Regions from separate parts of the Homo sapiens genome. Here all the other regions are linked to region 1. Evidence: promoter capture Hi-C in human tissues and cell types (Jung and others, 2019). All regions are on one chromosome and are shown on one strand. The core of a region is centred on a gene start or on the middle of the fragment in contact, and the rest is flanking DNA. Distances in the headings are between cores, read along the strand shown.

Evidence for each region. Contacts are between HindIII fragments. The study calls those that stand out against the background at their distance.
Region 2: the fragment with the promoter of PCBP3 here is called in contact with the fragment with the promoter of PTTG1IP in region 1 in 2 of the 25 tissues and cell types used here (hippocampus and spleen).
Region 3: the fragment with the promoter of TRAPPC10 here is called in contact with the fragment with the promoter of PTTG1IP in region 1 in 1 of the 25 tissues and cell types used here (dorsolateral prefrontal cortex).
Region 4: the fragment with the promoter of AIRE here is called in contact with the fragment with the promoter of PTTG1IP in region 1 in 1 of the 25 tissues and cell types used here (dorsolateral prefrontal cortex).
Region 5: a fragment that was not itself captured here is called in contact with the fragment with the promoter of PTTG1IP in region 1 in 1 of the 25 tissues and cell types used here (spleen).

What each region holds. Positions count from the first base shown.
Region 1 is chr21:44,871,781-44,877,404 of GRCh38, forward strand. PTTG1IP (PTTG1 interacting protein) reads right to left here and starts at 1,910. Exons shown (of 6, transcript NM_004339.4): 1 at 1,722-1,910. The coding sequence starts at 1,836. RefSeq lists enhancers at 1,031-1,531, 1,532-2,032, 2,190-2,867 and a silencer at 1,624-2,273. The HindIII fragment of the contact is 14,261 bases long and covers 1-5,207 here.
Region 2 is chr21:45,642,177-45,647,653 of GRCh38, forward strand. It overlaps PCBP3 (poly(rC) binding protein 3), which reads left to right and starts at 1,549. Exons shown (of 18, transcript NM_001384156.1): 1 at 1,549-1,692. RefSeq lists silencers at 754-1,743, 2,064-2,203. The HindIII fragment of the contact is 13,348 bases long and covers 1-5,477 here.
Region 3 is chr21:44,007,974-44,013,576 of GRCh38, forward strand. TRAPPC10 (trafficking protein particle complex subunit 10) reads left to right here and starts at 4,336. Exons shown (of 23, transcript NM_003274.5): 1 at 4,336-4,587. The coding sequence starts at 4,521. RefSeq lists silencers at 3,961-4,340, 4,491-5,160. The HindIII fragment of the contact is 5,486 bases long and covers 3,029-5,603 here.
Region 4 is chr21:44,281,105-44,287,181 of GRCh38, forward strand. AIRE (autoimmune regulator) reads left to right here and starts at 4,772. Exons shown (of 14, transcript NM_000383.4): 1 at 4,772-5,034; 2 at 5,453-5,627; 3 at 5,874-6,029. The coding sequence starts at 4,903. RefSeq lists enhancers at 1,344-1,423, 1,840-2,443, 2,444-3,045, 3,046-3,649, 3,650-4,251. The HindIII fragment of the contact is 44,459 bases long and covers 1-6,077 here.
Region 5 is chr21:45,531,366-45,537,419 of GRCh38, forward strand. It overlaps SLC19A1 (solute carrier family 19 member 1), which reads right to left. Exons shown (of 6, transcript NM_194255.4): 3 at 24-783. Among named protein-coding and RNA genes, the nearest start is that of SLC19A1, 8.0 kb to the right of the region's middle. RefSeq lists an enhancer at 2,827-3,701. The HindIII fragment of the contact is 5,189 bases long and covers 1,266-6,054 here.

The DNA of each region.
Region 1 (5,624 bases), core at 660-3,159:
GAATGCCAACATGACACGGCACCATTCTTCCTATTCCAAGGGGTCCCCAGTGAGAGAAACAACAGTCCACCCACCAGGACTTGGTGATTACCATAAGTGGAAGCAAGCAAGTGCAGCCTCCAAGTGCAGACACACCGAATGGCTTTTCAGCTGACACACCGAATGGCAGTTCCGGATTAATTCCCACACTGTCCACTCCACTCGTCCACACCCATCTCTGCACCCTTCAGCAGTGCAGAGCAGGAGGAATCACAGTCAAACAAAACCTCATGGTTGTTTTCCTGACACTCCCGCTTTCACAATGCAAGCAAACACACCCCCGAGCCACTGATACAGTTGCCAGTGAATCACACACTCTGCCTGCAGACGCCCATTCTGTTTGTGGAAACGTATTCACTGCACATTTGCGCTTAGAACTCAATCTGGGCCAAAAGTTCCCAGTACAGTCCCACTGGCCTCCTTGACTAACAAACTTCAAGGCAGCTGCATTGCTAACGTCACAAACCCTAAGCACACTTGGAGGCAGGTAAGAAGAAACACAAATAATCCTGCATCGGAATAAACATTCCATAAGGTCACAAAAAGAAAAGGTGCTCTACTATGCTAAACAGACACTGACAGAGCCTGGGCTAACAAGAGCTGAGAAAAGTATTAGCCCCTCAAGCTGGGCCCAGGTCAACCCTAATTGTAAGGGTCAGGAAACTGAAGTTAAGGTGGCACTATTCCCCACCACTAGTGGTCACCTGGAAACTCCACACACGGAAGCCAGCATGACATTGTGAAACAGGTCCAACCATGACACTCTCCAGCTTAGAACCTGCTGGATTTTCCCGCAGCCCACCAGGCCCTGGAGGCCCAGCCCCACAGGAAGCCACCCTCTATAAACACTGCCGGTTTCTGGAACTCTGAGTCTCCTGTCATGCACTTTCCTCCCCCAGCCCCCGCGCCCTCACTGCTTCTTTCTTGGTCAGCCTCCCGGGGACTCAGCTCCTCTTGGATAGGAGCTCTGGCTGTCGGTCACCACTGTGGCCGCAGGGCCTGGTGCAGACGGGATAAACGATGAAGAATGCCACCTGCGCGTCTGGACAGCGTAGAACCGCAATCAGCTTGCTTCAAAATCAGATGCTACAGCCTGGCTTTGGGGACGCCTTCCTTTCTAAGGCATAAGTGCGAGCGTTCGCTGCTGTGCGTGGAACTGCGGCCGGGAGGGAGTGGCGGCGTGAACGCCGGCGGCTGTAGAGACACACCGGCCGCGGCCCCATCACCCTGCAGGGGCCTGCGGCCGCCATCCCGGCCTGCCCCCGACCAGCTGTGCGACCTCGAACACGTCGTGAGCCGGCTTCCCGGCTCGGGATCGAACCCGAGGAGTGCTGTTTGGGGTCGCAGTGAGGCTAAGGGAGGCCGCAGGTGCCAAGCGTCCCGCCTGCCGGGCGAGGGCCAACCCGAGGCCACGCGCGAGGAGCGGCCGCAGCGACTGGACAAAACAAAGACAAAGACAAAGACGGCTCTTCCCCTGCCCGCGCCCCAGCCGCGACGGCAGCTCCCGCGGCCGCCAAACGGGCGTGACCCTCGAGGAGCCTCCGTCGGGGCGCTGCCTGCGACCGTGGGCCCAGGCCGCCCGCCGAGCCCAGCGCCCTGGCCGAAACCCCGACCCCGACCCCGACCTGGACCCACCAGCCGCCCCGCCCCCTTCGCGGCCCCGCCCGCCCCGGCGCCCTCACCAGCTCCGGGAGGCTCCTGCGCGGCGGCCACCGGGATGAGCAGCAGGAGCAGCGCGGCGCCACCGAGGCGCAACCTCCAGTACGGCGTCGGCCCGCGGGCCACTCCGGGCGCCATGGTCGGCCGGTCGCTCTATCAGTCAGTGGAGCGTTACAACTCCGACTCCAGCACAAGCGGTCTCCGCCCGGAACAGCCGCGGCGCCGGAAGTGGACCTGCGAGGTGGGGCCATGCGAGTGCGCAGCCTCAAAAAGCAGCTCGCCCCGCTCCCTCGCCATCTGCCCCGCCCCTCGCCAACGGGCTCGCCTCCCGGCGCGGCTGAGGTTCAGTGCGCCTGCGCGATAGAGGAAAGGAGCCTGGTAGCGAGGAGAGCGGCTGAGGCTCAGTGCGCCTGCGCGGCGCGGATGGGCGAGGCGTGACCGAGGGGCGAGGCGTGACCGAGGGGCGAGGCGTGACCGAGGGGCGAGGCGTGACCGAGGGGCGAGGCGTGACCGAGGGGCGAGGCGTGACCGAGGGGCTCGCCGCGGCTCCTGCGCCTGCGCGGCGGGGAACGGCGACCGGCTGAGGGGACTAGGGGAGCGCGGTGCTTCGGTGGCGGAGGTCACGGTGGCCTCCATCCTAAAGGGCTGCGGGCGTCCCGGACGGCGGTCCCAAGCGCTGCTCACGCTGCTCTTAAGTGAGCCCTGGACGAGGCGCGGTGGGCCCTCATAGTCCGCGCCGGCGCCCTCGCTCCACACCGCGGCGTCCGGCCCTGGGCTCCCGCCGATGTCCGCGTGGGACTTTTAGGGGATTTGTTTATTTTTGTACGTTAACCACACTAGAAACGGCCCCAGAATGGGCTGAAACGTGTGCTGCTGAAGCTGCCACCTAAACTCCCGAGAGAAGCGCCGTTTCTCCTCCATGGCTTCTCGCCGACGCCCTCGCTGCGGCCTTCCGGGCCCCTCGGTTGATAAAAGGACTAAATAGTGACGGACATTTTTAAGGCTACTTAAGAAATGGCAAAAATACATTTAGAGGTGTGAACCCGAACACACTGCGCGCTTTAAGCCCCGCGAGAGCCGGGGCCGCCCGCTTCTGTGCGCCCGTAGCTCCTTTCTCGGGTCCGGGATTCGCCGGTGCCGGGGACAGAAACCTCCTGCCTTCTTAGTTCATGACCCTTGTAGATGAACTTCCCTGTTTTCTGCACTGCTTAGACCAGAAGACGGGAAACCGTGACTGCCGCACCCTTCCCTGAAGCAGGCACTGCCCGTCGTCCATCAAACGCGAGGACTGCGCCCACCTCGTAGGAAGGACGCCGCGGTCCTGCTAAAAGCCTCCGCCTCTGCCTGCCCGAGGGCACCCTTCCCCTCCCCGCTTCCGAGGGCGGACTCCATTCCTCTGGAGCCGGTGTTTCCGGGTGGGCCAGCCTCCAACTGCCTTTGAATAACCCCCCCTTACATTAGATTCTGACCCTGTGGTGATTTTAGGTTGGGATTTGGGCGCCTGCAGATGGCTCCGAAGCCAGCCTCTTGTGATCCGAGCCACTTCTCTGGCACTCGGAGCGCTGGCACCCGCGGAGCGGCCTTGGTTCACCGGACCGCCTGGGAACCTGGCCGGGGTCTCTGGCAGCCTCCCAGGGCTGAGGTTCAGACTCTGTTCCGCCTACCCAGGTCCACACCTGATAGGGCTGGAGTTGAGGCTTGGTTTTAAGGCAAGAGTTTCGTTTGTTATTTCTCCAAAGAGTCAGCTGTTTGCAGGTGTGTGGTTAACACTATCCTTCGAGGTTAAGGTTTTGTTCGTCTTGCTAAAGTTTGCAACCTTTTTTGTCCTTCAGATTTGGAGAAGGGGAAAGCAGTTTCTCTTTGAAAAGAAGCAGCGAATCGTGGCTTAAGCAAAATTTGTAATCCTTAAAACTGGCCAGGCTCTGGAGCTGAGTTCAATTTGACATGTCTAAACTTTCTTCTTGAGTAACCAGATTTTCCCTTACAGTCTTTTGTCACTTAAGAGAACTCATAGGCAATCGTCCATCCAAAACAAGTCTTTCTCCTTCAGGGAGGACCCATCTTTGGAAACTCCAGCTGGTTTCCTGTGCAGTGCTTATGGTGCCACCTCTCGTTATATTTAGAAAAATGGTCTCACGTAACTTGAGAAAAAACATTTCAGTGACCAAAGCCGGGTACCATTGGAACACCAAGGTAATTTACTTGTTTGCTCAATTGGAAAACGCTGGCTCTAGGATAAAACGGAATCTTTGGGAGAGTTATTTTTTATGGTAGTTGGAAGCATCCAAAAGAAGTTCTAATAAAGGTATTTATGAGAGAAAAACAAAAATTATCTAAAATAATTTCTGAATTTAAAAAAGACTACTGAAATTTCTCCCCCTCCTCCCTCAGCTCCTTCTCTTTATCCTTTGTTGTCTGAATTACCTCGCCCAGACCCACCTTTCTTCCTCCTCCTCCTCCTGTTTTGGGGCCATTGCTCAAACAGCCAGTGTCTCTCATAGGGGACAACTATGTGCCCTAGTTCATGAGTTATGGTCAAAGGTAGAACTTAAAAGTATAATCAAGGAATTTCCTGATGCTCACCAGGACCCCACTGGTTTTCCCAGAGAATTTAAATACCCGAGTGTGTGACCCTGCCTCTACTTTGGGAAAAATAATTTTTTTTTTTTTGAGACGGAGTCTCGCTCTGTTGCGCAGGCTGGAGTGCAATGGCTCAATCTTGGCTCACTGCAACCTCCGCCTCCCAGGTTCAAGCGACTCCTCTGCCTCAGCCTCCCGAGCAGCTGAGACCACAGGCACGCACCACCACGCCCGGCTAATTTTTGTATTTTTAGTAGAAATGGGGTTTCACCATATTGGCCAGGTTGGTCTTGAACTCCTGACCTTGTGATCCACCTGCCTCAGCCTCCCAAAGTGCTGGGATTACAGGCGTGAGCCACCACGCCTGGCCATAAAAATTATTTAAAATAGTTAACACGAGTTCCCATTGCTGACATAAGCTTTTGCTGATAGAGCAGCCGTGTTTTCTGTAATAAATCCCATCTTGTTACAAGGTTCCATTCCTTGGAGTCAAAAAAAAGTTCAAAGGGTAGGTGTCACTAATACGCCTGTAACGGCACGTAAATCTCAGCCTATAGCTTTTCAACTAGGTCCTTTACAAGGGACTCACATTTTCCTTCTGGTTCTATCAGCTGCCAGCCATCTTATAAAAGGAGACTTCTTAGAATTACAATATCCACGTTTCTTTCTCCCAAAGGGGGAAGACGTATTTAGAATTAGATGAGAAAGCTGAGTTACTAGACATAAAAAAAGTTTCAAAATCTAACCCAATTGCGATCCCTAATTGCCCTAGAAGACACTGAATTATTGAATAATGAAGAATTACAAAACCTACTAAAGGCAGTACTTGATCAAATATGGTCAGAGTCTTCCACTGATACTGGAAGAATCCTCTTGGCTACCCCGATCAAAGTCCTTTAGTGTAGTGGACTTATTAGCACATCCTTCAGTAGTTCTGTGTGTGAAAGTGTTGATTTCTCTTTACCTTTACTTGGGAAGGCAGACAATACACACAGACAGCCATGCTCAGGGCTACACTGAGAGTCCAACTGATGCAAAGACAGTTGTCTTACATACTGACTTGTTCTTTTTTTTTTTTTTTTGACGGAGTTTCGCTCTTGTTGTCCAGGCTGGAGTGCAATGGCGCTACCTCGGCTCACTGCAACCTCTGCCTCCCGGGTTCAAGCAATTCTCCCACCTCAGTCTCCCGAGTAGCTGAGATTACAGGCATGCGCCACCATGCCTGGCTAATTTCGTATTTTTAGTAGAGATGGAGTTTCTCCATGTTGGTCAGGCTGGTCTCAAACTCTGAACCCCAGGTGATCCGCCCACTGCAACCTCCCAGAGTGTTGGAATTACAGGCGCGA
Region 2 (5,477 bases), core at 299-2,798, 770 kb after region 1:
CTCCGGGGGTGCTCGGGGGGCCGCGTGGGGTCTGTGACGTCGCCTCGAGGCTGCATCCCGGTGACCCGGCAGCCCCTGGCGCTCGCGGGAGGCGGGCGGGCGCGGACCCCAGGCTTTAGGGCGCGATTCCTGCAGCTGGCTGCCGGCCCGAGGTTCTGGGGTGTCTGAGGTCTCGGGCGGGGCGAGGACGTTTCTCCGGCTCAGCCCCCCCACCTCCTGCCCTGCCGCCCCCCACACCCAGCTCCCCACGGACGCCAAGAGGCGCCTCCCACCCCGGCGAGGACCCGCGGGGAAACGGGGCCCAGGCGCGGCGACTGCGGAGGACGCGCCTCGGCCCCAGCGCCCTGGTCCTCGGGGCGTCCGGCTGCCCTTGCCCGAGGCCGGGGCGGGCGCTCAGCGCCGCGGAAGAAACGCCCGGGCGGGGACGCACAGCGAGGCGGGCTCCGCGGGAAGTACCGGGAAAACGGCGCGGAGCGGAACAGCCCGGAGCCAGCCCAGAGAAAGGGCGGCCTCCCCCTGCAGCCCCCGGGGCCCAGCAACGCCCCGCCCCAGGCCACGGCACGCGAACGCCGGGCGGGCGGAGGGGACAGGGCGGCGGGACCAGCGCGGGGCGGGCAGCGTCTGGGCACAGGCTCACGAGCCGCTCGGGGCCCCTGCCCGCCGGGCGCTGCGGCCCCAGCCTCCGGGCCGGGGCCAGGCCCACAGAGAACGGGAAGCGGGCGCTGCAGGGGGACCTTCGGGGTTGCGGCACGGCTGGGAATTCAACGGCCATTCCCGTCCCGTCGGGCCCACCCGCCCGCCCGCCAAATCCCCGCCCACCGCGGATCCGCCCCGTCCACCAAGGTCTCGCTCACCAACGGCCCGCCCCGCCCACCACAGGCCTGGCCCGCCCACGAAGGCTCGCCCCGCCCATCCACGGCCCTGCCCACCACAGGCCCGCCCCAAGCCTGGGCCCCGCCCCAGCAAGGGCACTAATCCCCTAACCCCCGAGCCCCGCCCACTGCTCTTGCCCTTCTCCCGCCCGCCCCGACTTAGGCCTCTCCCCGGCCTGGCCTCCCGTACTCAGCCCCGCCCCTGCCCCGCCCCCACCCCACCCCAAATGTGACCTGCCCCTCCCACTGCCCGTCCCCTCCCCGCTTCACTTCATTAGGCCCCCGCCCCGATTCTTGCCCCGCCCGCTCAATGTCCCGCCTACGACCCCGCCCACTACTAGTGACCGGCCCGCCCGTTCGAGGCCCCGCCTCCTCCCCGCCCAATGCTCGGCCCCGCCCCGCGCGTCATTGGGCCAGGTCCCCGCCCCGCCCCCAGCCCCACCCCCGCCCCTTTGACTGGAGTTGGCTTTTTCCAGAGAACTTTCCGGGCTCGGATTGGCCGCGCCGGTTGATGTTCCGCCCTTTCATTGGCCCGCGGCGCCCGCTTTCGCGAGCCTGCCCTTGGGCGGGGGCGGGGCCGGCGGCGGCGCGCGGCGCTAGATTGGTTAGCGGCGCAGAGGGGCGGGCCCGCGCCGCGCGCAGCGCTCGGGCTGGAGCGCCTGAAGCCGCGACCGCCGCCTCAGCCGCCTCAGCCGCGGTCGCCGCCGCTTCGGCTGACTTAGGCTCCGCCGCCGCCTCCTCACCCGCCTCGCCCCGACCCCGCCCGGGCCTCCCGGCCTCTCCCCGCCGGCCCGCGGGCTCGCCGTCCGGCGCAGGGCAGGTGAGTGAGCGGTGGCGGGCGGGGTCGGGGTCGGGCGCCCTTGCGGGTTACGGGGACCCAGTCCCCGACGGAGGCCGAGTGACGGGGCGACCCCGGGCCGCGGCAAACTTCGCCCGAGCCGGGGCGGGCGGGGGTCCCGGGCTGGGTCGCGCCGTCCCCGACCGCCGCCGGCGCCTGCGGCGGCCCGGGGCAGCGAGGGGACTCGCGCTCCCTCAAGGTGCGGTCGCCAGGCCTGGCCCGCCCGCCTCCGCCCCCTCCCCAAATTCGGAAGTTGCGGCGGGAAGCCGAGAACGTCTCGGATGTGGGTCAGAAAACGTCTGGACTACTTGAGGCTTCAGTTTCAAAACGGCACAAATTTCATCTCTTGATTGAGAAGAGATCTGGGGAACACCCCGGAGCGGCCGCGGCGGCTGGAGGGCGGCGGGGCGGGGCGCGGGGCCTCCTCCCCCTGGACGGCCGCCGGGAGAGCGCGGCCTCACCCCTCGGTGACCCTGCGGAGAGCCGCGCGCGGGCGGTGGGGCGCGCGCAGGTCTCTCTTGTTGCTCGCTGTGTTTTATTTTAATTTTGGGGGTGGTTAGAACGTGTTTCTTATTGTCCCCACACGTGTTCTAATTGGAAGTCTTGTTTCGTGAAAGAGTTTTTTTCTTTTTTTTGCCTGGTGATGTTTTCCAATTCCCTCCGCGCCACTCTGAAGTATATTACTGGCATAAGAAATTTGAAAGTTAACCAAAAGTCGGGTCCTAAATCTCGTGGCTCGGGGTTGGTTATCTTCCACCGTCCTTCAGAGCAGCCTGGATTTGCAGGTCTTGTTAGCCCTCCATGTGAGCCAGTAGCACTCTTAGTTGTTGAGTGTTTGTAGAGTGGGATTCGCCAGAAGGAATCTTGAGCAGCAGGGCCTTGCGGAGAGGCCTTTAGAGATTAGACTGGGCAACTTATAGACTCCCCCCATTTCAAAAATATTCCTCTGGCACAGGCCCTCACATATCCCTCTGAAATTGAACTCACTTTCAGGGGCAAACTGTTGCCCTTTTTCTTTTCTTTGGACTTTCTCAGATGTGGATCCCAAAGGAGTGTGCAAGGGTGCTTCCCTATTTAAGAGAACTAACTCCCAGTCCTCCTCATATTCAAGAATAATTCATCATCTTAAAGCGTGTCAGAGATACCTATTTTGGCCCCAAAAGGAGTGTTTGTAGAACAGTGGCACTCTAAAGGGATCATTTGCAAGATCTGAAAGGACCTAATTGATCATCACACGACAGAAGCAGAAATAGTTCTGGTGTTTTCAGGCTTGGAGATCTGTCAGAAAACATGGGGCCTTAAAACTAACAAGTGCAGTGACCGACTAACTGATGTCTCACTTTCGAGCAGTATTTTTTTTTTTTGCTTGTATGTAGATGCTGTTGTTTATACAGTGCAAGTTCATTACGAATGGTTTAGAACTTACGTAGCTTCACGTATTTTCTTAGTTGATAATATTATAAGGTTTTGAAAAAGTTTTGATGATAAATGGGGTCTTTATAACTGAAAAAAATGGACTCTGTCTAGAATTCAGGGCTTTTTGGCTGGCGTTGCCCCAGGTGCTGCTGATTAGTGGTGCTTTTGGACCTCAAAACATCACTTTCCCAGATATCTTTATAATGCTCATGGTGGGGGAAAACCCACACAGCTTTGTGGTTACGTTTTTAGCTATTTATGCGAAAAAGTTCAACATATAGTTGTATTTTGCTAGCTGTTTTGAAGAAGCTATTCTTTACCCTATTGTTCTGAGGAGGCTGACAGCATGCTGCATTTATAAATTTGAAAAAGCCTCACGAGCTTCTTGAACCAATCTAGCTATTCAGATTTGGATTCTGTGTATCAGTTTTGATTATTTCAGTTCCTGTGTCAATGGCAGAATCATTTCTATTTTTACAAAAGTCTCATGGCTTTATTGTAAAGGTGAACACTGAAACAGATTTTAGTAGATGTAAGTTGTGTATCCTCTCAGTGAAGAAGGCAGTGCTTTGGGCCATAACCAAGGAAAATACTTGCTCATGTATTGGAATTGCCCCAACTTAAACATTAGAATAAATGCTGTAGATTTTGGGGCAGCTCTGATGTCTCAGCTCTCATCCCTGGTGGCAGTGACTCAGAGGCAAGGCGTCATGGGCCCGCTGTCCATGGTGCTGAATCCGTGTCACCTGTTTCTCTCTCTCTCTCTCTCTCTCTCTCTCTTTCTCTCTCTCTCTCTCTCTCTCTCTGTGTGTGTGTGTGTGTGTGTGTGTGTGTGTGTGTGTGTTTTGGGGCAGGGGGAGCTCAAACTTCCTTTCCAGTGTACTTTAAAATTAATTTCAGAATTCATATTATTAAATAAAATTTGATCAGGGAAATTATGTTGAATGGGAGCGTGTCTTGAAAACACGCCATTTTATTCTTCTTTTTAAGGAGGATAATTATGCTACAACATTCAATTTCCTTTGCTTAGTCTTCACTGTCTCTCTAGGTGGGAGTTTTGTTGCTTGAGTATGGGCATCAAGTAACAAATCACTGACATTAAATGAAACCCTGTTTTCTTAACAACCATTCCTTTAAGAAAGTACCAGTTTGTTTTAGTTTGTTTTCTTTTGCTTATAACAGAATACCTGAAACTAGGTAATTTACAAAGCAAAGGAATTTATTTCTTATAGTCATGGAGGCTGAGAAGTCTAAGGTCCGGGGGCCAAAGCCACCAGCTCCACTCCCATGACAACCCACTAATCCATTAACCCATGAATGGATTAATCCATTTTATGAGGGCAGAGCCCTCTTGATCCAATCACCTCTTAAAGGTCCCACCTCTCAATACTGCTTCTGCATTGAGGATTACATTTCAGCATGAGTTTTGGAGGGGATATTCTAATCATAGCACCTTTATTACAATATAGACATACATCTGTAGGCATATATCTATGTAGGGGCAACTTGTTCCCAAAAGGGTTGACTCTAGCATGTTTTGCATTCTCCAGCATGTTGGTTCTCAGCCTTTCCTGGCGATGGGATCTGTTTATGTGTTGGGCTACTGAGTGGTTGCCAGGCATTCCTGTTGTGTTAGAGCTATATCTACTCTCTTTTCTCTAATATTGAGGACATCTTTGTAAATCATTTTACATGAATCTTTTCTTTCTCTTGAGGTTAATGTTGTCAGTTACTTTAGAATTGCCCCACAGGTTAGCAGTAAAAAAAAAACAAAAAAGATAGATGTCACTTGTGGTACAGAGATGTCACATGGTAGTAAGTTGTATATCAAGCTAAGCAGTGGATTGTTGAGGTGCTTTTTGTTATGATCATCTGAACTGATTCTGTGGCCCCATTTGTTGTACACTTAACCCAGGTTACTCTTTGACATCTCTTTTGTTGACAGAAACTCAGGAAAACTTCCTTCTGCCTCATCCAAGCTTCAGAAATACTCCCTGATTCCCTACTGTTTGCCATTTCCTATGCTATGATCTGGGAACCCATGAGGGAATGAGACAGAGTTCTTATTGAAGGGCTCACCTGTTCGGATTGAGGAAGGAACATGTAAACAGATAATTACAGGGGGCCATACTCAGTGCTGCAGTTGGGATACATAGAAAACCAGGCAAACGTGTTGAGGGGCAATTCATTTGGGCCGAGAATCAGGGAAAGCTTTAGAGAGGAGGTGGCCTTTGGGCTGGACCCTAGGGCATGAGTTATAATTGGGCATGGATTGGGTATACATTTATTAGAAAAAGACTGGAAGGTTGGAATAACCGGAGTACAGAGTGTGTAGTGGTGTGGAGGCTGGA
Region 3 (5,603 bases), core at 3,086-5,585, 860 kb before region 1:
CAGTGGCTTATGCCTGTAACCCAGCACTTTGGGAGGCCAAGGTGGGCAGATCACCTAAGGTCAGGAGTTCAAGGCCAGCCTGGGGAAGACCCCCTGCCGTCTCTACAAAAAATTAAAAAATTAGCTGGCATGGTGGTACGTGCCTGTGGTCCCAGCTACTTGGGAGGCTGTAGTGGGAGGATGGCTTGAAGCCAGAAGACTGAGGCTACAGTGAGCCGTGACTGTGCCCCTGCACGCCAGCCTGGGCGACAGAGCAAGACCCTGTCCCCCCACCAAAACATTTTTTTTCTCTTGATCTATTTCACCAGTTTGAGTATGATATGCCTGCATGTAATTTTCTTTGTATGTGTTCTCTTCAGGTTTTGCTGAATTTCTTGATCTGTAAATCAGTATTTTTCACCACGTGTTTGGATTTGGAGCCATCATTTTGCAAAAATGTTTCCTTCCTAGACTCATACTCTCCTTCTGGAGCTCCGATCACACATGCTTTTGGCCATTTCATACTGTCCCATAGGTCTCTGAGGTTCTCTCCACTTTTCTTCAACTTTTTTCTCTTCTTCAGATTAAATAATTTCTATCCATCTGCCTTCAAGATCCCAAACTCCTGTTTTCTCCAATCTGTTAATCCAATTCAGTGAAATTTTCATTTCTGTTATTGTACTTTTCAGTTCTAGACTTTTCTTTTGATTCTTTTAGATACTTTGTTATTCTGCTGTGAATTTCTGATTCTTTACTCATTAAGACAATATTTTCATTTAATCCTTTGGACATATTATTTTTATTTATTTTGAGATGGAGTCTTGCTCTGTCACCCAGGCTGGAGTGCAGTGGCACTATCTTGGCTCACTGTAACCTCCACCTCCCGGATTCAAGCGATTCTCCTGCTTCAGCTTTCCGAGTAGCTGGGGCTACAGGCGTGCGCCACCACACCCAGCTAATTTTTGTGTTTTTAGTAGAGATGGGGTTTCACCATGTTGGCCAGGCTGATCTCAAACTCCTGGGCTCAAGTGATCTGCCCACCTCGGCCTCCCAAATTTCTGGGATTACAGGTGTGAGCCACCGTGCCCAGCCTCCTTTGGACATATGTAGAGCTGCTTTAGAATCTTTGTAAATACAGAATCTGGTTCATTGTAGGGGGATTGGTTTCTGTTAACTGCTTTTTTTTTTTCTTAACTATGGCTTACGTTTTCCTCTTTCTTTGTATGTTTAGTGATTTTTGTTTTTTTAGTGTATATTCAACACTGATAAATAACAAATGAGGGAGACTCAGGGTGCTCTTCCACTGAAAAATCCTGACTTTCGTTCTAGTTTGTAGTTCCATTACTGGACGTACCATGCTGGGCTGTGTAGGCTTAGCTTTAGGCTCTGTTTACTGAGCAATGTCCCAGGTGTCTCCCAGGCCCCTCTTACTTGGCAGGACTTAACCTCCAAACTCTGACCGTCTTGTGGATCGGGTCAGGGTTTTGCTTTAGACGTTGTTAAGGCGGGCCTGGAGTAGTCCTTATTCTAGGGGAGGGACTGGCAACCTCTGGCTCACAAGCCACATGTGTTGATGGCCTGTTTTTGTACAGCACTTAAAGCCAGGAATGGCTTTTATATTTTTAAAGAGTTGTTTAAAAAAAAAAAAAAAACAAGCAAAAATATGAAACAAAAACTGCATGTGGCCCACACAACCTAAAATACTTATCTGGGCCCTTTATAGGTCGTTTGCTGACCCCTGGGAATGTGATTCTCAATCTAGTGTCTCAGCTCAATGTCCTCAGTGTTAATGGCATTAAAAAGGTCTTGACTGGGCACGGTGGCTCGTACTCGTCATCCCAGCACTTTGGGAGGATTAGGCAGGAGGACTGCTTGAGGCCAGGAGTTCAAGACCAGCCTGGGCAACAGAGTGGGACCCTCTCTCTACAAAAAAAGAAAAAATTAGCCGGGCGTGGTGGCACTCACCTGTGGTCCCAACTACTTGGGAGGCTGAGGTGGGAGGATCACTTGAGCCCAGAAGTTCTAGGCTGCACTGAGATAACGATCAAACCACTGCACCCCAGCCTAGGTGACAGAACAAGACTGTCTGAAAAGAAAACAAAACGGAAAGTCCTTTCCTGTAGCACTACTGGACCTCTAGTCTTTGTGCCATCCTCAACTCTGTAACAGCCGCTTCCTGGTAAACCCATAGAGTCGTCCCACACGTGTAGTCCAGCCTAGGCCAAGGACTTTCAGGGAACCCTACATCGACTTCGGCTCCCCACTCTTGCTAAGCTTCTTCCCCTCCAGTGCCCTGCCTTGCCGGCCTGCTGCTTTAGCTGCCCAGAAGTCTGGTCTCTTGCCTCTCACACCATTACAGTGCACCACACTACACTATGTTCACACATTTAGCAGCTGTGTTCACACCCAAACTATCTCATATATACATTTTGTTAAAAAAAACTTCAGGACTCTCTAAACTTATGATGCCAAGGGTGAAGTTAAGCCCTGGAGACTGAGTCAGTAGCAAGTTTGCAATTCTGCTTCTTCGATTACAGTTTAATGCTCTTCCTCCTTGTTCTTGAGCACAAGTGTCTTCCTCATTGTGGCTGCTCTGTAAATCAGGGCTCCCCGACCGCCAGGGCCACAGACACATACCGGTCAGGCCACACAGCAGGAGGTGAGCTTCAGGCCAGGGAGCAAAGCTTCATCTGTATTTACAGCTGCTCCCCATCGCTGGCATTACCGCCTGAGCTCCGCCTCCTGTCAGGTCAGCAGCAGCGCTGGATTCTCCTAGGAGGGTGAACCCTGTTGTGAACTGCACATTGGAGGGGTCTAGGTTGCGTGCTCCTTATGAGAATCTCATCCCTAATGATGTGTCCCTGGCTTCCATCATCCCTAGATGTGACCGTCCAGTTGCAGGAAAACAAGCTCAGGGCTCCCACTGATTCCACATTATGGGAAGTTGTATTTTATTACATATTACAACATAAAAATAATAAAGTGCACAATAAATGAAATGTGTTTGAATCGTCCTGAAACCACCCCAACTTTGTCTGTGGAAAAACTGCATTCTATGAAACTGGTCCCTGGTGCCAAAAAGGTTGGGGACTGCTGCTGTTAATGACTAAGAAAGACCAGGTCTCCCCCTTCCCATTTGGTGATTTTTGTTACAGATTAGCTGTCTCCATTGTCCTGTACCTGACTTAGACCAGACAGCACAGAGACCCCAGGACTGTTTCATCTTCAGTGGGTCCCCAAAGAAAAAGACCACCTCGACTAAACAGACTGTTGTAACTATGCATTAGGCCTTATACAGAAAAGACGCTGAAATTCGGTTAGGCTTCCCGAGACGCTGGCTATAGAAACGACCCCAAATTTCTACGTTTGAGAACACTGACTTCCATTCTTTATAATGTTTCCTGGGCGCCTCAAGCTTCGCATTTGACTAAACTCTAGATTCTGACCCTTTTGATTATTTTTGGTTGACAGTTTTTGTCATTTTATGGCTGGGAGTGATGGCTCACACCTGTAATCTCAACACTTTGGGAGGCCAAGGCTGGAGGATCACTTGAGCCCAGGAGTTTGAAACCAGCCTGGAAAACATAGTGAGATCCCGACAAAAGAAAAGAAAAGAAAAAAATTAGCTGGGCGTGGTGGCTGCCCCCGTGGTCCCAGTTACTGGCGGAGGGGGTGGGGCGGGGGGAAACAAGGCGGGAGGATCGCTTGAGCCTGGAAGGTGGAGGCTGCAGTGAGCCGTGTCCCGCCACTGCACTCCAGCCTGAGCCAACTGAGGAAGACCCTGCTCCAAAGAAAAAAAGAAAAAGAAACACCCGCGCCCCGCCCCCCCCGTTTACGTGCACAAGAAGCCCATATGCAGTTAAGTGTGAGGTTTATTTTGTGGCATTCCGAAATGCCGAGGGCCAGGTCCCCACAAAAACATTTGCGGCGTGAGGGAAACGGGAAGAGCCCAGCGGTAGGCGGAAGGCACGCGCCGGGGACACTCAGCGGCGAGGGCCTGCGGGAGCCCCCAGCGCGATAAGGAGCCCGGCCGGGGAGCAGCGGCCCGCCGCGGGACGCCCGAGCTGCGGGGAACGCGAGGGCAGCGAGGCCGGCGTCTCTGGTCCGGGAGCGTCCAGGCTCGCTCACCGCGCGCGAGGCCCGCCTGCCGAGTCCTGGCCTCAGCTCCGGCGCAGGGCCCAGCGGGGCGCCCACTGCCGAGGGAGGAAGATGGACGTGTCCCGGGAGCCCCGCTCCGCCTCCCACTTCCCACCTCCCGGTCCCGCGCGGCCGGCCCGGGCGCACTTCCGTCGGAGGCGAAGCGCGGCGAAGACCCGCCCCGTGAAGCCTCGCGCGCCCCGGAAATGGTCATGCGGCGGCGCCGAGGCCGGAAGTGGCTGAGGCCGGCAGCAGCGGGCGGCAGCTGCGGCGCAACCGGCTCCGGAGCTGCCTGGCGCGGCCGGGCGGGCGGCGCCGCTCAGGCTCGGGCTCCGGCTGGGCCCGGCGCGGCCTCGGGGCTGCCCATGGGGCGCGGGGGGCCGGGCCGGTGACGCCGGACGCCCATGGACGCCTCTGAGGAGCCGCTGCCGCCGGTGATCTACACCATGGAGAACAAGCCCATCGTCACCTGTGAGTGCCCGGAGGCGGGGAGGGCGCGGCGGTCGTTGGGCGGGCCCGGGCCCTGGCGTTATGCACCCGGCGCCCCCAGACCTTCAGCCCCCGGCGCGCTCCGGGCTGGGCCGCTTCCTGGAGGTGTGACCAGGGCTGCGGCTGAGGCGGGGCCCTCTGACTTTTCGGGGACGCCCTCTGACCTTCCCGCCGGGCGACCTCTGACCCCTGGGGGGCGCCCTCGGGCCGGCTGCAGTTGGAGCCGGTGGAACCCGGCGGACTCTGCCCGGGACTGGGCGCGCGCCGGCGTCGAGGGCGAGGAGCGGGGGCTGCCACCGCCCCGTCCCGCCCCCGTTGAGCCGCGCGCCCGGGACCTGGGGGCCCCGGCCTCTTCCGCCGGGCGGTTTTGCCCGCGGGCGCCCTTTCCCCGACTACGGGGAAGTCCTTGGGGGCTCGCAGAGTTGCAGGCGTTGGCGAAGTAGGAACAGTTTGTTGCGGGGTGAAGCGTCAGGCAGAGCCGCCGGGACTGCTTTCGCTCCTACACACTTCCCCGCCGCGCACTCAAACCATTTTACGGATGAGAAAGCCGAGGCTCGGGCGCTTAGGCGAGCTTGCTCCCCATGAACAGCCTCCCGCTCGAGTCTACACTACGGACACCTGGTGCCTCTTGGGTGTCGTGTCCTCCCCGCACCCCTCCTTTAATGCATACACAAAGGAACTGTTTTTCTGTTACGGGAAAAATGTTCCCTAAATTTTAGAAGTGTGACTCTCCAGAGTTAAATACGGTTAAGAACAGTGAGCTTATGGGAAGTATTGAAATGTTTGTTGGTTGGCTTTTAGGTGACTTGCAGAGAGGTGTTTCAGACTGTTACGATTTTTGACCTTTGACAGTATTCTGTATTTTCATGCATGTATGCAGTTAGTTTTTTTCTAGTTGTCTTTCGTGCTTGGAAAGGAAGCACTCTCTGTTGCAAAATCTGGGTGCCCAGGCCACAGTAGACTGTATGTCGTGAGAACTCCTGTTTCCCTCTCACTCT
Region 4 (6,077 bases), core at 3,522-6,021, 590 kb before region 1:
CATCCTGGCTAACACAGTGAAACCCTGTCTCTACTAAAATACAAAGAAATTAGCCTGCTGTGGTAGCGGGCGCCTGTAGTCCCAGCTACTCGGGAGGCTGAGGCAGGAGAATGGCGTGAACCCGGGAGGCGGAGCTTGCAGTGAGCCGAGATCGCGCCACTGCACTTCAGCCTGGGCGACAGAGCGAGACTCTGTCTCAAAAAAAAGAAGAAAAAAATCTGGCACCACTTCCCCTAGTTCACTGAGAAAAGTGACGCCGTCTGGACACATACCCACAGTGGGACGCAGTGGAGAGGCCAGACCAGGGAAACTGAGGCCCAACCAGTGGGGCAGGTTTGAGGCAAGAGTAGTAGGAGGGGAGGGGGCAGGGGGTCCCCCCTCCAATGCCCTTGGCTGAGCACGGGTTCTTCTGAGCTCACCGGTGCTCGGAGCTGCCTCCCTGACTTGGACAACCATGTGGAATGGCCATCCCGCCCTCAACAAGTAGAGGCAACTTCCTCTCTACAGTGAGGAAATTGAGGCCCAGTGAGGAAGCCTGTGGCCAGGAGGGTGCTAGGGGTCCTCACAAAGTGTCCTGAGGGGACCCACCCCTCCCTTGATGCCAGACCACCTGGCCAGGCTGCAGGAGCAGGGCCCAGGGCCTCCAGGAGCCAAGGCCTGGCCAGGGCTCCATGTTCCCCGAGGCCTTTCTGACTCAGGCTCCTGGCCTCTGGGAGCCTGGCCCTTCCAGGGAGCCACAGGGGATGGAACCTCCATCTGGAGCAGGGGAGAAGGCATGGAGTCCAGGCTTGTTTGAGGGGCCAAGGCTGAGCCCCCTCCAGCCCCTTCCCTGCTCTGCCATTAGGACCTGGCTCCTCCCAACTTCTATACACATCACATGGGCCGCGTCCCCCCACTTTGCAGGCTGAGAACATCTGACGTGACCTGGGCACCTGAGGGGCACCCGGCACAGCAGGAGCATGGACCTGGAGAACCTCTGTTCTTCCGTGCATCAAGGTCCGAGTCGTGGTTCTGCCCCTTAGCAGCTGCGTGACTCTGGCCAAGCTCCTCCCGGCAACAGGCCTCAGTTTCCATATCTGTGGATGGCACTAATCACGATGATGACCTGAGGAGACCGTTCTGCTGATGGAGTGAGCAGAATCACAAAGCTCTCAGGGCCTAGCCCGGGGCATGGCAGGTCCGCAGGCGTCCAAGGGCACAGCACAGATGTGGGAGAAAGGGCTGCGGGGCCCTCCCGCTCCAGCCGAGGACACGGGGCTCAGGGATGGAGCCCAATACTGTCCCAGAGCTCTGCTGCCCAGGTGCCTCTTGGGGAAACTGAGGCTCAGTCCCACAAAGGCATCAGTCCCACTGAAGACAGGGCCGAGTCCCCAGCCCCTCACCCCCCTCCAGGGGTCTGTGCCACCTCCAGGGAGCCGTGGCGGCTCCATGTCACCTGCGGGCAAGGGGCTGGTGTGGAAAGCCCCACGGCATGGTGGAAAGTCCGAAATTCTACAGGGGCCTCTTTGTTAAACCTCCATGCAAGAGGCTGGGTGACGCCTGCCCACAGGGGTCAGGCCCCAGCCCAATGACACAGGTGACCCGCAAAGACTGCAGGTCTTTTTTAAAAAGTGAAGTGCAGACTTGGATCTCGCTTTGCAGTTTTTAATTCCCCTTTAACCATCTCTGGGCTAAGGCATCCATTGACTCACTTAACCATCTGGGGAGGGAAAAGCCACCGGGTTGCAGGGGGTGACTTTGGGGCAGGATGGCCTCTGAAGGGGTGGGTTGCCCCTCCACACCTGTGGGTGTTTCTCGTTAGGTAGAACGAGAGACTTGGAAAAGAGACACAGACAAAGTATAGAGAAAGAAATTGGGGGACCAGGGGACCGGCGCTCAGCATACGGAGGACCCCCGCTGGCCTCTGAGTTCCCTTAGTATTTATTGATCATTTTTGGGTGTTTCTCGGAGAGGGGGATGTGGCAGGATCATAGGATAATAGTGGAGAGAAGGTCAGCAGGTAAGCACGTGAACAAAGGTCTCTGCATCATAAACAAGGTAAAGAATTAAGTGCTGTGCTTTAGATATGTATACACATAAACATCTCAATGCCTTAAGGAGCAGTATTGCTGCCTGCTTGTCCCACCTCCAGCCCTAAGGCAGTTTCCCCCTATCTCAGTAGATGGAATATACAATCGGGTTTTATACCGAGACATTCCATTGCCCAGGGACGGGCAGGAGACAGATGCCTTCCTCTTGTCTCAACTGCAACGAGGCGTTCCTTCCACTTTTACTAATCCTCCTCAGCACAGACCCTTTACGGTGTCGGGCTGGGGGACGGTCAGGTCTTTCCCTTCCCAGGAGGCCATATCTCAGGCTATCACATGGGGAGAAACCTTGGACAATACCTGGCTTTCCTAGGCAGGGGTCCCTGCGGCCTTCCGCAGTGTTTTGTGTCCCTGGGTACTTAAGATTAGGGAGTGGTGATGACTCTTAACGAGCATGCTGCCTTCAAGCATTTGTTTAATAAAGCACACCCTGCACAGCCCTTAATCCATTTAACCCTGAGTTGACACAGCACATGTCTCAGGGAGCACAGGGTTGGGGGTAGGGTTACAGATTAAAATGGAGTCTCTTATGTCTACTTTCTATGCAGACACATTAACAATCTGATCTCTCTTTCTTTTCCCCACAGCCTCAAAGGAGAGGAAAGCCAAGTTGCTGGGAGCAACGGTTACTGGTCATCCCAAAGCTGTGTGCGCTGGTTCCCTGGCACCCCAGGGGCTTTTATGCATGAACTGTGCAGCCAGTGGGCCCAAGGGTTGCCATTGAACTTGATGTTAGTGAGCTCTCCCTTCGTGAGACCCCTGCCCATGGATGAGCAAGGAGAATGGGGGTGTTTCAGGAGCAGACAGGGATCCTGTGCAAAGCTGGGCTTCTGTGCAACTTTCGCTTGCAGTTATTTAAATATTTTTGCTGTAAATACAGAACTGCAGGGGAGAGGGCAGGAAACCCAGCGAGCAGCAGCCCGGCCTGGCTGGGGACAGGATGTGTCTGTTGGAGCGGGGACCGGCAAGGCAGGCATGCAGGCAGGGGGCTTCCCTCTCGGGGTCTTCGGAAGGCGCAGTGCAGGGAGTGAGAGACGCCCAGGCCTGGGCAGCGAGAGGGCCCTGCTCCCCGCTCAAGGCTCCCAGGACATTCCACACAGGAGCCAGCCTGTTCCAACCCTGCACTGCCTGATACTCCACAGCCACCACTGAGATGGACCCCCTCCCCCTCAGCTCCCCATGACGTCCCCAGCACCTGACCCCAGGCTGACCACCTCGGCCACCACCTCTGGCCCCACCTTCCTCCCCAGGTTTGTTCCCAAACACCCCTAGAGTCTTTTCCGGAGCAATCTCAGACGTGCAGAACGCTCAGGGGGACCCTGGGCCTGAAGGCGGTAGGAGAAACCGAGACCGACCCCTGGTCTAGAGGAGAGGTGTCTGCCGCTCTCCATCCTGGACTCTGGCTGCCCAAAAGCAAACGGCACGCCTGCCCACGTGGGAATCTTGGTGGCGTCTCTCACTGCATCAGTTAGCCCCCAGCCCAGTGCTGCCTGGATTCAGGCTTCCTGGTACCTTCGTCCACCCTTCAGCCCTAATCCATGCTGGCCAGGTCATCTCGTTCTCTGGCTCAGTGGGAACACTCGTGCCCAGAGACCTCTCGTGGTTCTCTGCAGCCTGCACACAGGGCCTGCTTCCCTGGCTTGACCGCACAGACAAGGGGACTGTTACCAAGGCCTCCCACTGAGGCCACCCCCCCTCCAGGCCATGCCTGCGGGGCCACCACAGCCTCAGCATCATTGCAGGCCCCAGGCCTCTGCACCTGGTCTTGTTTTACTGGGGGCACTGTCCCCACTCACGTCCACCTGGGACCCTCGGCTCCTGTCCACTGCAGCTCCCCTCCCGGACACCTTCCCAGATGCCCCCGGAAGCTCCTGTCCAGGCCACAGCATCCCTCAGCCTCTGTCACTGGTCCTAGGAAGACCCTTTGGGAGCTCTCACTCAGGGCCACACTCAGGACCCCCGTTGTGGGGCTGGCCGCCTTCCTTCTAAAGCACCTGGAGGAAGGAAGGAGGGGGTCAATGCGAGCCTCAATCCCCAGGCGAGTGTGCCCCTTTTAAAGATGAGGGAACCGAGGCTCAGAGAAGGAAAGGACTTGCCTGGCGTCACACAGCTAGCCTAAGATGGTGAGGTCAGGAGCTCCCTGGCAACACCCAGGCTGCCGTACCGTCTCCTGCATCAGACTGAGCCTCCATCGGGCTCCTCCCACAGCCCCAGGCGGGCCCCTGAGTAGGGGCTCTCAGCTTGTGTGGAGGTCCCCCAGGAACACCACCCCGATCCAGCCTCCATGGAGGCTCTTGCCGGCCACTGGGAGGGGCCGGTGCACCCTGGGCAGCCCCTGCCAGGGCCCTGAGACCCGAGCCTCCCCGCCGAGGGCACCTGTCTCGGCTTTGCCCCATTCGAGCAGGGCCCTCGCCGAGGCAGGACAGGGCCACATTCGGAAGTGAGAGTTCTCTGAGTCCCGCACAGAGCGAGTCTCTGTCCCCAGCCCCCAAGGCAGCTGCCCTGGTGGGTGAGTCAGGCCAGGCCCGGAGACTTCCCGAGAGCGAGGGAGGGACAGCAGCGCCTCCATCACAGGGAAGTGTCCCTGCGGGAGGCCCTGGCCCTGATTGGGCGCCGGGGCGGAGCGGCCTTTGCTCTTTGCGTGGTCGCGGGGGTATAACAGCGGCGCGCGTGGCTCGCAGACCGGGGAGACGGGCGGGCGCACAGCCGGCGCGGAGGCCCCACAGCCCCGCCGGGACCCGAGGCCAAGCGAGGGGCTGCCAGTGTCCCGGGACCCACCGCGTCCGCCCCAGCCCCGGGTCCCCGCGCCCACCCCATGGCGACGGACGCGGCGCTACGCCGGCTTCTGAGGCTGCACCGCACGGAGATCGCGGTGGCCGTGGACAGCGCCTTCCCACTGCTGCACGCGCTGGCTGACCACGACGTGGTCCCCGAGGACAAGTTTCAGGTGGGCTCCCCGCCCGCCCCCCGCTGCCCCCAGGCCCTGTGAGCCAGGGATAGTCCCCGGGGAAGTTCCAGGAGGACCCCGCCCCTCCAGATCCCCAAGCCCCTCCAGCCTTCCCCAACTCCCTCCCCACAAGGAGCCAGGGGCGTCCCTGATGACAAGTTAGAAGTTGGTCCCCTTCCCCCAGCCGTCCCCACACCTCACCCCCAAGCCAAGGGAATGGCCTCCAGGTTCCCCCAGCCCCACCCTCAACACCCCTACACCACCACCTGACTCCACCACAAGCCGAGGAGATGGGCGTGGAGCTGTCCAGGTCGCCAGCGCCTCTGCCTGGGAGCTCCACCCTCTAGTCATGATGGAGATGGGCAGGCCGCAGGGTGTGGGGGACCATGGCAGGGACCCTCATGCCACCCCACTGCAGGAGACGCTTCATCTGAAGGAAAAGGAGGGCTGCCCCCAGGCCTTCCACGCCCTCCTGTCCTGGCTGCTGACCCAGGACTCCACAGCCATCCTGGACTTCTGGAGGGTGCTGTTCAAGGACTACAACCTGGAGCGCTATGGCCGGCTGCAGCCCATCCTGGACAGCTTCCCCAAAGGTGGGTCCTGGTGGACTCAGCCATGCTGGGGGCCTGGGGCAGCTGCTGTCACCTGCTCAGCCCAGCTGGACTGGAACCGGAGTGGTGTTTGAGGAGCCCGTGGGTGATGTTCCAGGACCGTCTTGGATCCTAAGAGGCAAAGGGGCCAGGCCTCACCTGTCTGGCCAAGGTGTCCAGTTCTGGGGCCCACCCTACCCCTGGAGAAAACCCTGAGGTTGGGACCCTGCTCCTGCCCCTGAGCTGCAGATGTGGACCTCAGCCAGCCCCGGAAGGGGAGGAAGCCCCCGGCCGTCCCCAAGGCTTTGGTACCGCCACCCAGACTCCCCACCAAGAGGAAGGCCTCAGAAGAGGCTCGAGCTGCCGCGCCAGCAGCCCTGACTCCAAGGGGCACCGCCAGCCCAGGTACCCTCCCTGCAGGGGAAGCCAGCCAGGGTCTCCAGTCTTCCCGGG
Region 5 (6,054 bases), core at 2,610-5,109, 660 kb after region 1:
CTCGGGGACCAGGGCATGCGTACCCAGCAGCGTGGAGGCAGCATCTGCCGCGCCGTTGTAGACCCGCGCACTGTTGGTGGTGGGGTCCACCTCGTTCCACAGGATGTGCACGTAGTAGACCACCAGGTAGTAGCCGGCCGAGTTGAAGACCCACCAGAGGGACCACAGGCGCAGCTGCGGCCGCCGCAGGCTGTCCCCCAGCTCCCGCAGCATCCGCGCCAGCACTGAGTCCCCACAGGCCACCCGCAGGGCGTGTCCCAGCTTCCCGCCTGGGCCAGGATTCATGCGCTCCAGCTCCGAAGCCGAGGTTTCGCACCGCCCCCGGTCGTCGCGGTTGAAGAAGAGGCTGCGCTTGGGGCGCTTCAGGAAGAGGGCGAGGACCACGCTGAAGGTGAGGAAGGCCAGCGAGATGTAGTTGAGCGTGGAGAAGGAGACTCGGCCCACAGTGACCAGCAGCTGGCCCAGCACGGAGCTGGTGAACACGCCCAGCAGCACCGCAGCGCGCGAGTAGCCGGCCACACGCTGGTAGCGCGCGGGCCGCACGAGAGAGAAGATGTAGGAGGAATAGGCGATGCGCGCGGCCATGGTGACGCTGTAGAAGAGCTCCATGAGCTGCATGTGCGCCACCGAGTGGCCCAGCAGCAGCAGCAGCCACACCGACACGAAGCTGAGCCCCTGCAGCAGCAGCACCGGCGTGTAGCGCAGGTAGTCGGTGAGCAGGAACACGGGCACCAGCACGGCCAGGTAGGAGTACGACAGCACCGGCGTGATCTCGTTCGTGACCTGCGGACAGGCGGGCGTGCGCCCCACCAGGTGTTAGCAATGCTGCCGCTGCGGCAGACACAGCCCGCCCGAGGTGATGGCTGCTGACGGCTTCCTGCCCCAACACTGCCTGGTGGGACCCCTCTCCCCAACACGCCCCTGTCCCATGTCCCACTGCATCGTCCTCTCTGAACAGGGACCTCTGGCTCCCGACCGTCCCGGCAGCCTGGGAGCGTTCGCCTGCGGAAAGCTGGCAGTGGCCACAGAAGGAATCGTTATTAACAAGCCTGTTCATCTAAGCTTCTCTATTTTTATCTCTTTCTTGGGACAGAGTCTTGCTCTGTCGCCCAGGCTGGAGTGCAGTGGCACGATCTTAGCTCATTGCAACCTCCACCTCCCAGGTTCAAGCAGTTCTCCTGCCTCAGCCTCCCGAGTAGCTGAGATTACAGGTGCGTACCACCATGTCTGGCTAATTTTTGTATTTTTAGTAGAGATGGGGGTTTCACCATGTTGGGCAGGCTGGTCTCGAACTCCTGACCTCAGGTGATCTGCCCACCTTAGCCTCCCAAAGTGCTAGGATTACAGGCACCAGCCACCACACCCAGCCAGCTTCTCTATTTTTAATAGAATCAAAACATGGTTTTATTTCATTTTAAACAATATGGAAAACACAGCTGTAACCCATACACATTCACACCAGCACAAGCTTCTTCCATCCTTCCTGGAGAGAGACAAAAACAGAAGACACAGAAAGGAAGGGCAGGATCAGGGACAGCAGGTTCGTGGGAGGGACTGTTCGTGGGGGAACCCGGCAGGGGAAGAAAGACAGGAAGGGGAAGAAGGGGAAAGAGAGGAAGTGGGGTAGGGCAGAGGGCCCTGGGCTGTGCACTCCCATCTCACACTTGTCCCCAGAGCAAGGTCTTTAAGGCCAGACTCCAACCCAGGAGCAGGGAGGGGGGCAAACGCCCCTGTAGCCGCCCTGCACCCTCCCAGGAGGGGGAGCACAGGCTGTCAGCCTGCCCACCCCCACCTCCTCCATCACATGTTATGTGGGAACCCAGCTCCACAGCCTTGGCCACTGAGCTGCTGGTGGACACTCCAGGCCTGGCTTCCATGCCTGTGGCCTCAACACACATCCACCTTCCATGGGAACGTGGAGCTGGGCACGGGGCTGGGGGTGCTACCTCCTACAGGACAAGGTCAGAGGACACTGCCCCAGACTACTACAGGCAGGCACCAAACGTCCTCAGCTGTCTTGGCAGGGGCCAGGGCTGCTGTGGGCACACCTGGGCACACCTGGGCACAGTCCAGAGGAAGAGGCCCCACCCCTGTGAGGCCAAGCCGCTTGCCTTGCCCCTCCCTGGGGACTGATGTGGGAGCCACCCTATGCTTGGAGCCTCCCCTGGGGCCCAGGTGCATTTTCAGCAGGTGGCCCCGCCCACAGGCCCCACCAGACCCCACCTCAGATCCACTGGAGGTTGGTACCAGATGAGCCAGCAGGGCCCTGCTGGACTCTGGGCCTCCAGCAGGCCCCACCCGACTCAGGCCTGACCACCAGTAACCCCACAGCCCCACTCGTGCTGCCCCAGGTGACCTCAGCCCCTGCCAGCCACACTTGGCAGGACCAAACCCTGGGTCAGCACGTGGGGTGCTGCGCCGAGCCACGCCGCCTCCCCGGGGGCTCTCAGCCTCGTGTCTGGCACACCCAAGATGTGTGGCCCGATGTGCTCAGAGCCCGGCCACCGGCTACTGTGAACAGCTGGGCAATAGGACCCTGCAGCCAGGCCGGCATGCTGAGAAGCTTCCCAGGGGCTCAGGGGAAGGCTGCCCAGAGACCCCACCTCAGGGCACCCTGAGGTCGCACCCTGGAGCCTGCACCCTCATGGAGGCCAGGCTGACCCAAAGGCTGTGGTCCCAGCAGCACCAGGCACCCAAGGTCCCTCCGGCACTCCGTCCTGCTCAGGACATTCCGGGACACTCTGAGGGCAGGTTATGTGCCAGGAGGCTGAGTGAGCCCGCCGGGTCACAGAGAGCCTCAGGGCCAGCCATCGGCTTCTGCACTGTGTTTACAGCAATGTCCTGGGGACATCAAACAGCCCCTCTGTGGGCAAGCTCTCCTGGCTGATGGCCTGCTCGACTGGGGGAGGCTCCTCCTCAGGGCCAGCCCAGGGAACCCCTGCAGATTCCGAAAGAAGCGGCTCAGAGGCAGGGGTCCTCCTAGGACCTCAGGGACCCCCGACCCCCAGACACAGGAGGCTGCGTGGGGGCATGACAGCCCCAGCCCCTGGCCGGGGCACAGGTTCTGCCCACAGCCCAGAGTCAAAATGGTAGACAGCCAGCAGAGAGGCTCTCCCCAGACCCCACGGCTCTCTGGAAAAGGGCGGCCAGGGGTCCTAGAAGCCTCACCCACCTCCGAATGAATGGAGCATGCCTCATTTCCTCTTCCACCAGGAGCTGGCTCTGCAGGCTGGGGCCTCATCAGGCACCTCCTGGTCTTAGTTGAGGGTCTGAGCGCAGAGCTCCCCCTTGGCAGCCACCCAGAGCCCTCCCGCTCCTCTCCCTGCACCTCCTCAACGGCCCCTACTCCCTCTTCCTCAGCCTTGGCAGGCAGACAGCAGGGAGGCTCTGCCCAGAGCTGTGACCTGCGTCCCACTTACAAGGCTGCTGGGGGAGGGGCCCTCACAACGGTCCCAGCAGGGAGGTGGCATCTGTCAGGCGGCCACGACTCTGACACGAGGACAGCCTCCTGCTGCCTGAGCCCAGCGTCGGCCCTGCTCTCCACAGGTCTTGGTTGGGGTCCAGGCTGAATGGGCAGAGTGCAGGCAGCTGCGCCCAAATCTACGTCCAGACGGCCTCAGGGCGGCTTCTCTGAACAGGGAGGCGGGAAGGTGGGCAAGGCCCGAAGGCAGGCAGGACGCGAGGGCAGGGCCAGGCGTGGGGCAGCAGGACTGGATGCCACAGAAGGGCACCCAACAGGGGCTGGCTGGGGACGGGGCATGGGCCGCAGGTCAGGAGGGACTGCTGTGCACAGGGTCCTGGGCCGGGGGGTCTCCCTGGAGGAGGGCGGGGGCTGCAGCTCCCACCACACAGCACAGTTCCAGCGGGGGCCCAGGCAACCTCAGTGCACCCAGGAGCACCTCACGGACTCGGCCGGGGAAAGCGCTCTCAGCTGACACTCAAAGCAGAAACCCTGGAGGGAAATTTGGCCAAATTCAAAATGACTCCAGAGAAACACCGTATGTAACACACAACCAGTCCAATCCCAAGGGCACGGGGTCCCCAGGAGGCAGAAAAGGGAACCAGGTCCGAGGAGGACAGCAACCACAGGGCTGCCAGGAAACACTGGCCCACGGCGGGAGAAATGGCGGCAGAGCAAATGTGAGCAAAGGAAACCACGCTCCTCACAGCGGCCAGACGGCCGGCGCTCAGCAGCCCACCCGAGCTGGTGAGGGGAACGTGGGCAGCCCGTGGCAGGCTGCAGAGGAAGCAGCATTCGCCCCAGGAGTGAACTGGAAGTGCCAGCCCGGGCCAGCTGGGTCAAGGCCCACTGCCTGAGGCTGCCAGCTCGTGCTCTACCTGCAGCCATCACCTGCAGTGGGAGAAGCCGGAATCCCCTAATCACCTCCAGCAAAGCAGCAGATAAGCACCTTGTAGTTCAACCCAGGAGGCGCAGCTTAAGAACAGCCTCGAACCCACGTGGAACGTCTCTCAAGTCAGATTGGGCAGGAGAGCAACTTGCGAAAGCTGGGTCACAAGACACCACTTACGTGAACTTCCTAGACACAAGCCTGGCAACAACAGGGGCTGGCGAGTCCTGGCAGGCTGGGCCTCCCTTGCCCCCGAAGCTGCTCCCCGCCCACCTACTGGTGGCTGCCCCTGCACCCCGGCGCCCACGTGCCTGCTCCCGCGTGAAGTTCTTGTCGGGCCCCAGGAGGGAGGGCGTGATGAAGCTCTCCCCGGGCCTCTCCTGCAGCCAGAGGGGCTGAGATCGGGGGCCCCACCAAGTGGCAGGTGCGCAGAGCACCTGCACCCATCGTCCCTCTGATGATATCCAAGGCCTGGTGGAATGGCTTAATTTCTGGAATCTACTTTTTAATCCGTTAATGTACAACATGAGAGGGCAGGCAGATGGGATTTAAACATTTTTGCTCTAGAGACTTTTCTTATTTTGTTATTTTAAGGGAAACGCCACACATAATGCTCACCCCTATAAATAACCTTGGCGGTGGACAGTGGCCCTCCACTAAGAGCAGAGATGCCATCTGGTCAGTGGGTGGCAGGGAGAGGGACGGACTGGCCAGGAGCAGAAGGCATTTCATGAGGGGTCAAGGAGATGGCTCCGCCGCTCCAGCCCCAGCCCCGCCACCGACAGCCGGAGCCAGGGCAAGACCCTGTCCTCGCCTAGAAAGTGACCCAGCCTGGCGGTTAGCAGTGCTGGCCGTGGGACGAGACACAATCACACCGCACGGTGCTCTGAGCTGGGCACGCGGGAAGGGCAGCACCTCCACTGTCCCAATAGCACACTCCTCAGCTGCACATCAGTTTCACAATTCTAGGGTCTGGGAGGGTTGGGGTCCGGCTTCCGGCCAGGAGACACAGGGAACAAGAGGCATGCCGAGCGTCAGCCATGTGGGAGCAGAGGACGGGGTCAGCGGCTGGGATGGGCAGGTGAGCAGGCCCAGGGCCCTGGGATGGGGTGTCGGGGTGACCAGCTGGGCCGGCAGCCTGTGAGAGCGCTTTTCCAGGCTCTTCCTGTGCAGATGTGCCTTATGGACAAGGACCCCACAGCTCCAGGAGGAAACTGCTTCGGATACGGCCGCTCCCGCCTCCACCGCTCATGTGACCTGAGAGACCCGTGACTGGGCATAAGCCTATTAGAACAGTTTCAATAAGACCCTTTGTCCTCATGGCTGAGTAAAATGAAAATTCCTTCAATAATCTCTTTAGGTAAATAGCCACTAAGTCTCTGTGGAAGGCAGGTGCCCAGCAGGGTTGGACGTGGGCTTCCTCACCAGGAGGGCCGATGAGCACGGCCTGGCGGGTGGGGTGGGGCAGGCTCTCTCTCTGCAGGACACAATATCACTTTTTATCTAGCCTGGTTACTAGGCCGAAGCCAGGCCCCTCCATCTGATGGTGCCCGCTGCTGGGAGTGTGAGACCCCAGCCGGGTTCCCTCCAGGACCATATTATCAGCTGACACGGCCACTCACCCGCTCCAGCCTCAAGTGCTCACACATCCAACAGGAAAAGCGCCCTGGCCCCTGAAGCTGCTCCCCGCCCACCCATAGGCGGC